Regions from separate parts of the Homo sapiens genome. Here region 2 is linked to region 1. The links are contacts of gene promoters, found by promoter capture Hi-C in blood cells and fetal thymus (Javierre and others, 2016). All regions are on one chromosome and are shown on one strand. The core of a region is centred on a gene start or on the middle of the fragment in contact, and the rest is flanking DNA. Distances in the headings are between cores, read along the strand shown.

Evidence for each region. The method cuts DNA at HindIII sites, captures the fragments that hold promoters and counts their contacts. A CHiCAGO score of 5 or more calls a contact.
Region 2: a fragment that was not itself captured here is called in contact with the fragment with the promoter of EFTUD2 in region 1 in 2 of 17 cell types (endothelial precursors and erythroblasts); the score reaches 6.4 in endothelial precursors.

What each region holds. Positions count from the first base shown.
Region 1 is chr17:44,895,893-44,901,211 of GRCh38, forward strand. EFTUD2 (elongation factor Tu GTP binding domain containing 2) reads right to left here and starts at 3,553. Exons shown (of 28, transcript NM_004247.4): 1 at 3,477-3,553. DNAAF19 (dynein axonemal assembly factor 19) reads left to right here and starts at 3,837. Exons shown (of 4, transcript NM_213607.3): 1 at 3,837-3,967; 2 at 5,098-5,249. The coding sequence starts at 5,107. The HindIII fragment of the contact is 5,429 bases long and covers 379-5,319 here.
Region 2 is chr17:45,087,740-45,093,149 of GRCh38, forward strand. All of the region lies in intron 3 of NMT1 (N-myristoyltransferase 1), which reads left to right. Among named protein-coding and RNA genes, the nearest start is that of MIR6784, 24 kb to the right of the region's middle. RefSeq lists an enhancer at 2,985-3,486. The HindIII fragment of the contact is 602 bases long and covers 2,219-2,820 here.

The DNA of each region.
Region 1 (5,319 bases), core at 2,303-4,802:
TCTTCAGTCTTTGGATCTACAATCTTCAGTCTTTCCTTCCAAGGACTGTCATGAAATCCTTAAGGATGTCCCTTGATTTGAGGTTGTCTGATGTTACCTTATGATAATATTCAGGTTATGCGTTTTGGGCAGGAATATCATAGAAGTGATGCTGTGTTCTTCTCAATGCATTTCGTATCAGGTGATACATGATTTCAATTTGCCCCATTAGTGGTAACGTTAACTTTGATCACTTCATTAAGGTGATGTTTGCCAGGCCTCTCCATTGTAAAGTTACTCATTTTCCCTTTGTAATTAAGTAGTGTTTTGTGGGTTTTCTCCACTTCAATTACTGAAATTCTATTCAAAGAAACAGTTCAAATGCCACCACCTCCTTCAAGCTTTCCTAGCTCCTCAATTTCTCATTCCTCTATCCTACTAGAGCTTTTTGCACCTTTATCAGTATTTAATTTTGTCTTAAATAGTAGTTAACTGGCTGGGCACAGTGGCTCATGCCTGTAATCCCAGCACTTTGGCAGGCCAAGATGGGCGGATCATGAGGTCAGGAGATAGAGACCATCCTGGCTAACACAGTGAAACCCCGTCTCTACTAAAAATACAAAAAATTAGCCAGGTGTGGTGGCACACACCTGTAGTCCCAGCTACTCAGCAGGCTGAGGCAGGAGAATCACTTGAATCCAGGAGGCAGAGGTTGCAGTGAGCTGAGATCGCACCACTGCACTTCAGCCTGGCTGACAGAGTGAGACTCCGTCTCGAAAAAAATAAACAAAATAAATAAACAAATAGTAGTTACTAATTACCATCACCAACTATAGTTTATAAGCAATAAATAACAGACTAGAGCATCAGGGCTCTGGAGTTGGAAGACTTAGATTCAAATCCCAACTTTGTCACCAACAACTATGTAACTTGAGGTAAGTTACTTCATCTCTTCCAACCTGATTCCTATTCTTCAACTGGAAAATGGAATGAATAATCCTCACTGAATAAATGGTTATGAGGATTAAATAAAACACCCTGTGTAAAGAATTTACCAGAGTCCAGCTGGGTGCAGTGGCTCACGCCTGTAATCCCAGCACTTTGGGAGGCTGAGGTGGGTGGATCACGAGGTCAGGAGATCGAGACCATCCTGGCTAACACGGTGAAACCCTGTCTCTACTAAAAATACAAAAAATTAGCCAAGTGTGGTGGTGGGCGCCCGTAGTCCCAGCTACTGGGGAGGCTGAGGCAGGAGAATGGTGTGAACCCAGGAGGCGGAGCTTGCAGTGAGCGGAGACAGCGCCACTGCACTCCAGCCTGGGTGACAGAGAGAGACTCCGTCTCAAAAAAAAAAAAAAAAAAAAAGAATTTACCAGAGTCCTAGGCTCAATAAACGTTAGCTAGCATTATTTTTTGCCATCCTTGATCATGAGAACCCTGTGTTCCATGCACCTGCTTCTTCTCTTCACTTCTTTTATGATACTAAATTTAATTTTAAAATAATACCAAAAAGTGGCAAGAACAGTACAAATAACTTTCTTTTCCCCAAATATTTGACAGTATGCTGCTGACACAATGCCTCTTCACCTCCTAATACTTTAGAGCAAGAGTTGACAAACTCTGACCTGTGGCCAAATCTGGCCCCTCCAACTGTTTTTGCATGGTCCTCCAGCTAAGAATGCATTTTACATTTTTATTTTTTTATTTTTTTGAGACGGAGTCCCGCTCTGTTGCCTAGGCTGGAGTGCAGTGGCACGATCTCGACTCACTGCAACCTCCGCCTCACAGGTTCAAGCGATTCTCCTGCCTCAACCTCCCAAGTAGCTGGGATTACAGGCACCCGCCATCACACTTGGCTAATTTTTGTATTTTTAGTAGAGACGGGGTTTCAACCATGTTGGCCAGGCAGTCTCGAACTCTTGACCTCAGGTGATTAGCCCACCTCGGCCTCCCAAAGTGCTGAGATTACAGGTGTGAGCCACCGCACCCGGCCACATTTTACATTTTTAAATAATTGAGAAAAAAGTACCAATGCTAACACAGCCAATAGCCAAGACAGCACCTTGCATAAGTAGGAACTGGATAAATGTTAACTGAATGGGATGTTTAATTTTAAGATGCTGATATTTCTTGGATTAGACTGATACCTCCAACTCCCTCAATGCCACCTGCTGGGTGCTGAATGTAGAGAGAGAATTGGAGCTCCAAGGACCAATAATTAAATGTAAATTATTATGGAAACTTTCACATGCATATTCTTTTTACTTCTAAAAAGCTACTATCGCATTTATGCTTATCTCATTCTCCCAAGACCCCAGTCAAGGGATTGAAGAAATTATTTATTTATTTTATATATATTTTTTGAGACAGAGTTTTGCTCTTGTTGCCCAGGCTGGAGTACAACGGCACGATCTCAGTTCACTGCAACCTCCGCCTCCTGGTTTCAAGCGATTCTCCTGCCTCAGCCTCCCGAGTAGTTGGGACTACAGGAGTGCACCACTACGCCTGGCTAATTTTTTTGTATTCTTAGTAGAGATGGGTTTTCACCATGTTGGCCAGGCTGGTCTCGAACTCCTGACCTCAGGTGATCCGCCCGCGTCTTTCTCCCAAAGTGCTGGGATTACAGGCGTGAGCCACCGCGCCCGGCCGATTGAAGAAACTGTTATAGAAAGCTGTTCATGGAACAAGCCAAGCTCATTTCTGCCTCAGGGCCACTGCACTTGCCTTTCTCTTTGTCCAAAACGCTCTCCCCTTTGATATTTTTCACCTTGTTCCTTTATTTCAATCAAGTCTCCACTAAAATGTCATCTTCTCTGTCACTCTAAAAAGTCCCCCATACATACTCTCCAACTTCCCACTTTCACTGTTTTATTGCTATTCACAAATGTTATACATTTATCACTAGCTGACTTGTATCTAGTTGTTTACTGTTCATTTCCCCAACTACAATTGAAGCAAAGACTTTGTTCACTTAGTACTGTGCCTAGCATAGACTAAGCCCTCAATAAGTATTTACTGAACTAATGAATGACTCTAACAAGGTACACAGAATATAGCTGATTTGCCCACAGTTACACAAAACTAGCGACTCATGGTAACAAACCTCACTGCCGCTTCCCGCTACAATGCAGGAGCTCAGAGGACTTCGGAGGGAACTTGGCAAAGAACGGCTGAAAGCGGCACGGATAGAAGAGGAAGTGAGCGAGGGGACTGGACAGTTAGAGCACCACTCCTACCTAGCGATACGATTTTACGGACTGAGGCTATAGAGGCAGCCCCGAAATCGAGGTGTGTGCGTGTGTGCGCGCTTCGGAAGCCTTGGGAAGGCACGAGGACGACAGGGTCTTCCATTCTTTTTCCCGCTCCAGGCCTCAATTTACCGATCCGTAAAGCGAAAGGGGCCAATAGCATATAAGGCCCCTTCCAGATCTGACGCTTTTTAATTTCCTATCCCACCTGGAGCAACCCTTCCGTGCCGCTGACCCGCTTCAACTTACCTCTCGCCTGCTCAGCTAAGAGTTCCCAGGCCGCTGCCGGAGATCGTGCTTCCGCCCCACGCCGAGGAAACGCCTGCGCCCGCCGCCAGGAAGGACCCCGCAGACGCCGCTGTCGCCTTTCTGCCCGGGAGGACAACCCTCTGCCTGAGGACCAGTTCCGAGGTATGCCCGCCGCGGACTGGCAAGGCGGAGTAGCGGGTCCCCAAGACGAGTAGCCCAAGACGTGGGCTGCTCCAAAGAGGGTGAGAGCTGAGGATGAACGAATCTGATCAGGCGCCTCGGGACCACCCTGAAAATGGGGGGAGGGGCCTTCGGGCAGATCACGTGGTCAGGCTGTTAGCGCAGTTGCTAGGCAACCACAGCTGCGGGCGTGGTCTGCGCGGGGTTGCCCTCCTGTTCTGGTTTATCAGGGGATCCCCAAAGAAAGCAAGGGGACCAAGGCCGGGACTGCTGGGGTGAAGGTCCGGGAGGCTGAGTAAGGGGACGGAAGGGTTAGTTCTATGTATTAAATGCCTGGGGAGGGCTGAGAACTGGACACCTGATTTCGGTTACTGGCCACCCCAGCCCCTTCTTGGCGTTCAGATTCCCTACGTTGGGGTAGGGTGGCTATGGGATTGGTTGGGGACTTCCTGCTTCCTTGCGCTAGGGCTGTTGGTGATGACCCCGCCACAAAATCTAGCTCAACTCACTAGGAGTTTGCAGTTCAGAGAGGTCCCACAAGTAAATGCCAGAGCCACGACTAGAACCCACGTAGAGAATCTCTCTGCAGTGGCTCACGCCTGTAATCCCAGCACTTTGGGAGGCCGAGGCGCGCGGATTACTTGAGGTCAGGATCGAAAATTGCTTGAACCCCGGAGGCAGAGGTTGCAATGAGCCAAGATCGCGCCACTGCACTCCAGCCTGGGCAACAGAGCCAGAAAAAAAAAAAAAGAAAAGAATATCTCTGTAGAAATGATCAGTCAGCCTCAGATATGCAGAAACTACAGAAGTACAGTGATAGAACTAAAGGCATTGCCCAGGTACCTAGGGACCTCTGTTCCAGCCCTGGGCTGGACAGAGGGATTTGGGGATGGGGTCATTGAGCTCCTTCCTTTGCCCCTTCTACTTGATTTCCTGCTCAGTCATTGCATCTGGTTTGGGTGAAAGTCTCCTTCCTCATTAAAGACATTCAATGAAGAATGAAACTTTATCCCCGAGCTCAAGGGTAACTAACAAGAGTTCTGCCTTTGTGTGAGGTCCCCTGTCGAAACGACTTGCTGTAGAACAATCCTATGGGGGAAGAGTGAAGAAACTGAATTCTGAGATCCCAATGCCTCCTCGACTGAAGCACCAAAATTAAAAATATTTTTAGAGGCAAAGAGCAAAATTAAGACAGAACTCCAAATTGAAAGTCAGGACTCTGTATTCTATTTTCAGGGACAAGTCTTGTGTAAGTCCTCACTGTGAAATTCAACTTGTCTTTGTAAAATAGAAAACCAGATTTTTGTAACACCTCCCAATCTGAGTGACATGATGTCCAGAGTGCTTTGGGGTCATTTTGTGTTCTGGTGAATAATTCAGAGGTACCCTCTTTCCCCTGATATTGACTGTCCACTGACATGTATTCCCTTTGCCTTCCCAGGCACAGGCCATGGAAAGGAATGACATCATCAACTTCAAGGCTTTGGAGAAAGAGCTGCAGGCTGCACTCACTGCTGATGAGAAGTACAAACGGGAGAATGCTGCCAAGTTACGGGCAGTGGAACAGAGGGTGGCTTCCTATGAGGAGTTCAGGTTGGCTCACTGCCATTTTTCTCAGGCCCTCCTGTTATGGTGGATTATAGTAGTTAACTCTGAAATCAAA
Region 2 (5,410 bases), core at 1,270-3,769, 190 kb after region 1:
TCCAGAAACACAATGAGACTTCACTAGTATGTTCGGTGCAGAGGAGGAGGGTGGGGCAGGGCCAGACAGGGTAGGGCTAAAGACTGGTGAGGTGAGGAAGGCAGCTGTGCCCAAGGAGATTTGTTTGCTGCAGAGGTTGGGAGCAGCTAATCCATGAGGCCTGCAGACCTGCAGGATGGGCATTGCCTAATTGCTAGTAGAAATGCAGTTTGTCGGGCCCCACCCCAAAGCTGCAGAATCAGAACTGCCAGAGGATTTCTGTCCACTTTGAAAGTTTGAGAAGCTCTGCTCTAGAGCGGATGCAGTTCTTAGAAGCTTGGTCACAATAGAAGCAAGCTGAGGAGGTGCATCCCCACGGGTGAGGGAGAGCAGAGCACTGCCCAGGTGGACAAGAGGGGTGCTGATTCCCCCATCACCGTGTGTGTTTGGCTGCCCTCATCGGCCAGGTCCCAGGCCCACTGGCTAAGCCCTCCAGCAAGGCTTTGGGCCACAGGGTAGGGTCCCAGTGACCAGTTTCTCGCTGAGGAGCAGGAAAGATGCAGAGAGCCACACATCTCACCTCTGAATGAAATCCCTGATGAGGTGTTGTGTGGTGGCTGCCATGTATCTTGGCTCTGTTTTCAGATGGCATTTTGGAGTTTTGGTTTGATTTTATTTTTCCTGAGGAATTTGCAAATGAGTAACCTTGCTACATTCTTCACAGATAGTGGCACTTGGGAAAGAGGCAGATTGAGGCTGGGCGCAGTGGCTCACGCCTGTAATCCCAGCACTTTGGGAGGTCGAGGCAGGCGGATGACCTGAGGTCAGGAGTTCGAGACCAGCCTGGCCAACATGGTAAAACCTCGTCTCTACTAAAAATACAAAAACTAGCTGGGCTGGTGGCATGGGCCTGTGATCCCAGCTACTTGAGAGTCTGAGGTGGGAGAATCACTTGAACCTAGGAGACAGAGGTTGCAGTAAGCTGAGATCGCACCACTGCACTCCAGCCTGGGCAGCAGAGCAAGAATGCATCTCAAAAATGAATTTAAAAAAAAAAAAAAAGAGGCAGCTTGGGATTAATTTGCTTCTGTTCCTCTTCAGCCCAGCATACTTTGTTTTCCTTTCACCTGTAAATGTAGAAAGTGCTTCAGTTTAGTTCTCAGAAAGCTCAAGAGAAAACCACACAGTTGCTCATACGGGCCCTGACACTTTGAGGAAGGAGGAACAAGGTCTGGTTTTATTTCTTCTGGCTTTGCCTTCTGTGCAGTGTGTGGTGTCGGACTCCATGGAAGAGCAGTCACCCTGAGCATCTGACTAGTCTGCCTTTGAGGTCCAGGGTCAGTCAAGCCCCAGTTAGATTCCTGTGTTTGTGTCAGCCTGTAAAAAGTGCCACCTTGGCAGGCGTGTTAGCCTGCATGGCTGAGGCGTCACCCTAGTTCTGAGTTTTCTCAGGGGTGGTGGTACCTACAGCTTCTTGCCCTAATTTTTTTTTCACTTAATTGGAGGACTAATGATTATAAATCTCGTGCATATCAGCTGCACTGTGTTTTTACAGTACTCTCCACCTTCTTGGGAGAGTTTTAATTAGATGGTATTCCACTAAAGAAACCTACAAGTCTCTCTGATTTATTTATTTATTTATGAGACAGAGTCTCACTCTGTCGCCCAGGCTGGAGTGCAGTGGCGTTTTCTCGGCTCACTGCAACCTCTGCCTCCCAGGTTCAAGCAGTTCTCTGCCTCAGCCTCCCGAGTAGTTGGGATTACAGGTGCCCACCACCACGCCCGGCTAATTTTTGTATTTTTAGTAGAGACAGGGTTTCACCATCTTGGCCAGGCTGGTCTTGAACTCCTGACCTCGTGATCCACGTGCCTTGGCCTCCCAAAGTGCTAGGATTACAGGCATGAGCTACCGCACCCGGCCCTCTCTTTTATTTTCTTGAGACAGGATCTCGCTCTGCTGCCCAGGCTGGAGTGCAGTGGTATGATCATGGCTCACTGCAGCCTTGATCTCCTGGGCTCAAGCAATCCTCCCACCTTAGCCTCCTGAGTAGCTGGGACTACAGGTGCCTGCCACATGCCTGGCTAATTTTTAAATTTTTTGTGGAGACATGGTTTCACTATGTTGACCAGGCTGGTCTCAAACTCCTAGGCTCAAGCTGTCCTCCTGTCTTAGCCTCCCAAAGTGCTGGGATTATAGGCGTGAGCCACTGCACCTGACTGAGACCTGCAATTCTTTAGAAGCTTAAAATTATCCTAGGTTTACCATGGAAAGGCCTTCTTAGGCCGGGTGTAGTGGCTCAATGCCTGTAATCCCAGCACTTTGGGAGGCCAAGGCAGGAGGATTGCTTGAGCCCAGCAGCTCAAGACCAGCCTGGACAACAGGGAAAGACCTCGTCTCTACAAAAAAATTTAAAAATTAGCCAGACATGGTAGCACATGCCTATGGTCCCAGTTTCTCAGGAGACTGAGGTGGGAGGATCGTTTGAGTCCTGGAGGTCGAGGCTGTAGTGAGCCATGATCGTGCCACTGCACTCTAGCCTGGGTGACAAAGCGAGTCCCTGTCTCAAAGATTAAAAAATAAATAAATAAAAATGAAAGGCCTTCTTAGCAGAAGTGTTTTAGTCTGTGTAACAACTGTAAGAGCCGCAGATGAACTTTTGATCCCCCACTCGAGATCATGTCGTTCTTCTTTTTAAAGTCACCCCTTTCCCACTCATGTCAACGGAAGCAGTATCCTTTTCTGTCTTTGGTCAGTGGAATGCAGTGTGGCCACTCTGTTTTAAAAAGTCACTATCAAAGGGAGGATGTGCACTCACCTGGTTTCCATGGGTCCCAGAGAGAAGCTTCCCCTCTCTTTTTCCTCTCCTTGGCCTTTGTTTGGTTTAATGTTTTCCGCATCTCAGACATTCTCATTTCTCCGAAGTCCTTCACAGTTGCACCGCATTGCTTAGTTTTGGGTCTCTGATGTTTGATGTCATGGAGAGAATTTTGAGGGAAGAGTGTGCAGAAAGAAACCCATTGAAAGCTCAGGGTTTTCTTTAAACTTCCAGATTCTTTTAAAGCAAGTTCGAAGTGTCATCCTTAGTCATTTATTGGTTCATGTTGGCCTTGAGAGAATCAGCTGCATTCTTGCTGTGCTCTGCAGAGCAGCCTTCCACCCCTGCTCAGCAGGAGGTACTCAAAGGCCATTGTAAGGGAGAAGGCAGGCTGCTCCCCACAGAGCAGGACAAGCAGAGGCCATGATGCTGGCACCACACCGAGGACAGCACAGGAGCCTTGGGCTGCTTCTTGGCATCGAGGGCACTCCACAGTGGGAGTCTAGTAAAAGTGGCTGCTCCCTTTTCAGTGTTTCCTGTAGCTCTACTTTTTCACACCCACCCTGCCCCACATAGTCCACCTGCAGCCTGGCTGATTCCTAATTATCCTTGAGGTCTTGTCGTTAGATATTTCCTCTGAGAGGTCTTTCCTGACACACACACACACACACACACACACACACACACACACACACACACACACGTCCCATAGCACCCTGTACTTCATTCTTACTGGCCCTCACCATGCCGGGTGGCATGTGCATCCTTGCTCATCTCTTTGGTGTCCATGATGGTGAGGACCTGTGTCTGTTTCATTCGCCAGCCCCTGCCACAGAACTGGCACATTCTAGGATTCAGTGAACACTTGGTGAAGGAGTGAGTGAATGGAAGTGCCTGTTGCGTGTAGGACCTAGTAGCCAGCCTAAATGAGAAGATTTAGCCTTGAGGTTATTTTAGTACAATAGGGAAGACCATCAGTATTCTTGGCCATGGAAATAATTCAGGGGGAAAAAAAGAAGGTTCTGAAGTGTATAGGAAAAGGTATAAATTCAATACAAGTTGGGAAATTAGCACCTAGATAAGACTAGAGGGTCTGGCCCTCAGTTTTGTAGGCTCAAAAATGTTTTTTTAATATACATAGCTGTCAGTTGGAAGCGGATTGACTTAAATTCACAAGAGCTACTTTATGAATAATCAAATGGTGGGTTTTGGCTGGGCGCCGTGGCTCATGCTATAATCCCAGCATTTTGGGAGGCCAAGGCAGGAGGATCACTTGAGTCTAGGAGTTTGAGACCAGCCTGGGCAACAGTGAGACCTCATCTCTATGAAAAATAAAATTAGCCAGGCGTAGTGGCGCATGCCTATAGTCCCAACCACTCGAGAGGCTGAGATGGGAGGATCGTTTGGGCCTAGGAGGTCGAGGCTGTAGTGAACCAAGGTTACGCCACTGCATTCCAGCCTGGGCAACAGAGCAAGACCCCATCTCGCCAGTCATGAGTTTCCTAACTAGGGAAGAAAAATATGACCTCTCTCCCAAGCAAACCTGTTGGGAAGCCTGATTACCAACAGAGCAGGCTGCTTCCCTGTTGTGTGTCCCTGCACTTTCCAGATCCTGACCTGCAGCACGTGGATAATGACTCATTTATTTACTATTTCCCCAGAAGATGGTATGTCTCATGAGGACAGGGACTTGGTCCTTTTTCCTGCTGTACACTAGGGGCTGGCATGGTCACTGAGTCACTGGTGCACGGTTGGTGCTCAGTAATGTGTCTGATGGAAGAGGGTGAGATGATCAGTGCCAGCGGTGGTGTCGTGTGCTGCAGCCTGATGCAGCCCTTTCCACCACACTTGCCCCACAGATTATCATTCTGGGAAGGTCTAGAGCTTCCTGTTACATGTTAGAATGAAATGTTTGGACTTTGGGAGGCCGAGGCGGGTGGATCACTTGAGGCCAGGGGTTTGAAACCAGCCTGGCCAACATGGTGAAACTCCATCTCTACTGAAAAAAAAAAAACAAAACACCAAAATTAGCCAGCGTGGTGGCGGACACCTGTAATTCCAGCCACTCGGGAGTCTGAGGCAGGAGAATTGCTTGAACCAGGGAGGTGAAGGTTGCAGTGAGCCAAGATCGCACCACTGTACTCCAACCTGGGCGACAGAATGAGACTGTCTCAAAAAAAAAAAAAAGAAAAGAAAAGAAAAAAAAAATATTTGGGATCAGGAGTCTGAAAGTCAGTAAAAGCATGAATTGAGTGCCTAGTCTATACAGAGCCCTTTGCTAGGAACACTGTTACTGGGTTGGTCCCTTTTGAAGACTCCATTTTCCAAAATGCACTAAACATTGCATTCTTCCCAGTGTAAACATGAGTGAGCCCATTGTAGAACCGAAATCATCCCAAGGGCCAGAATTCAGTGGTGAATCTCTCAGCATATATGAGTCCGATTGAGCTCTGGATAGGAATGAGGGCTGTGTCTTTGGAGCACTCCCCACATGCTCCCACAGAGGAGGGGCCTATCCTGCTCAGGGAGGGGATGTTGTGTCAGGGTGACTTCCCGGCAGCACTATGTAGACTTGGTGATTCAGCCCAAAGGCACTTGCAGGACTCTAAACACTG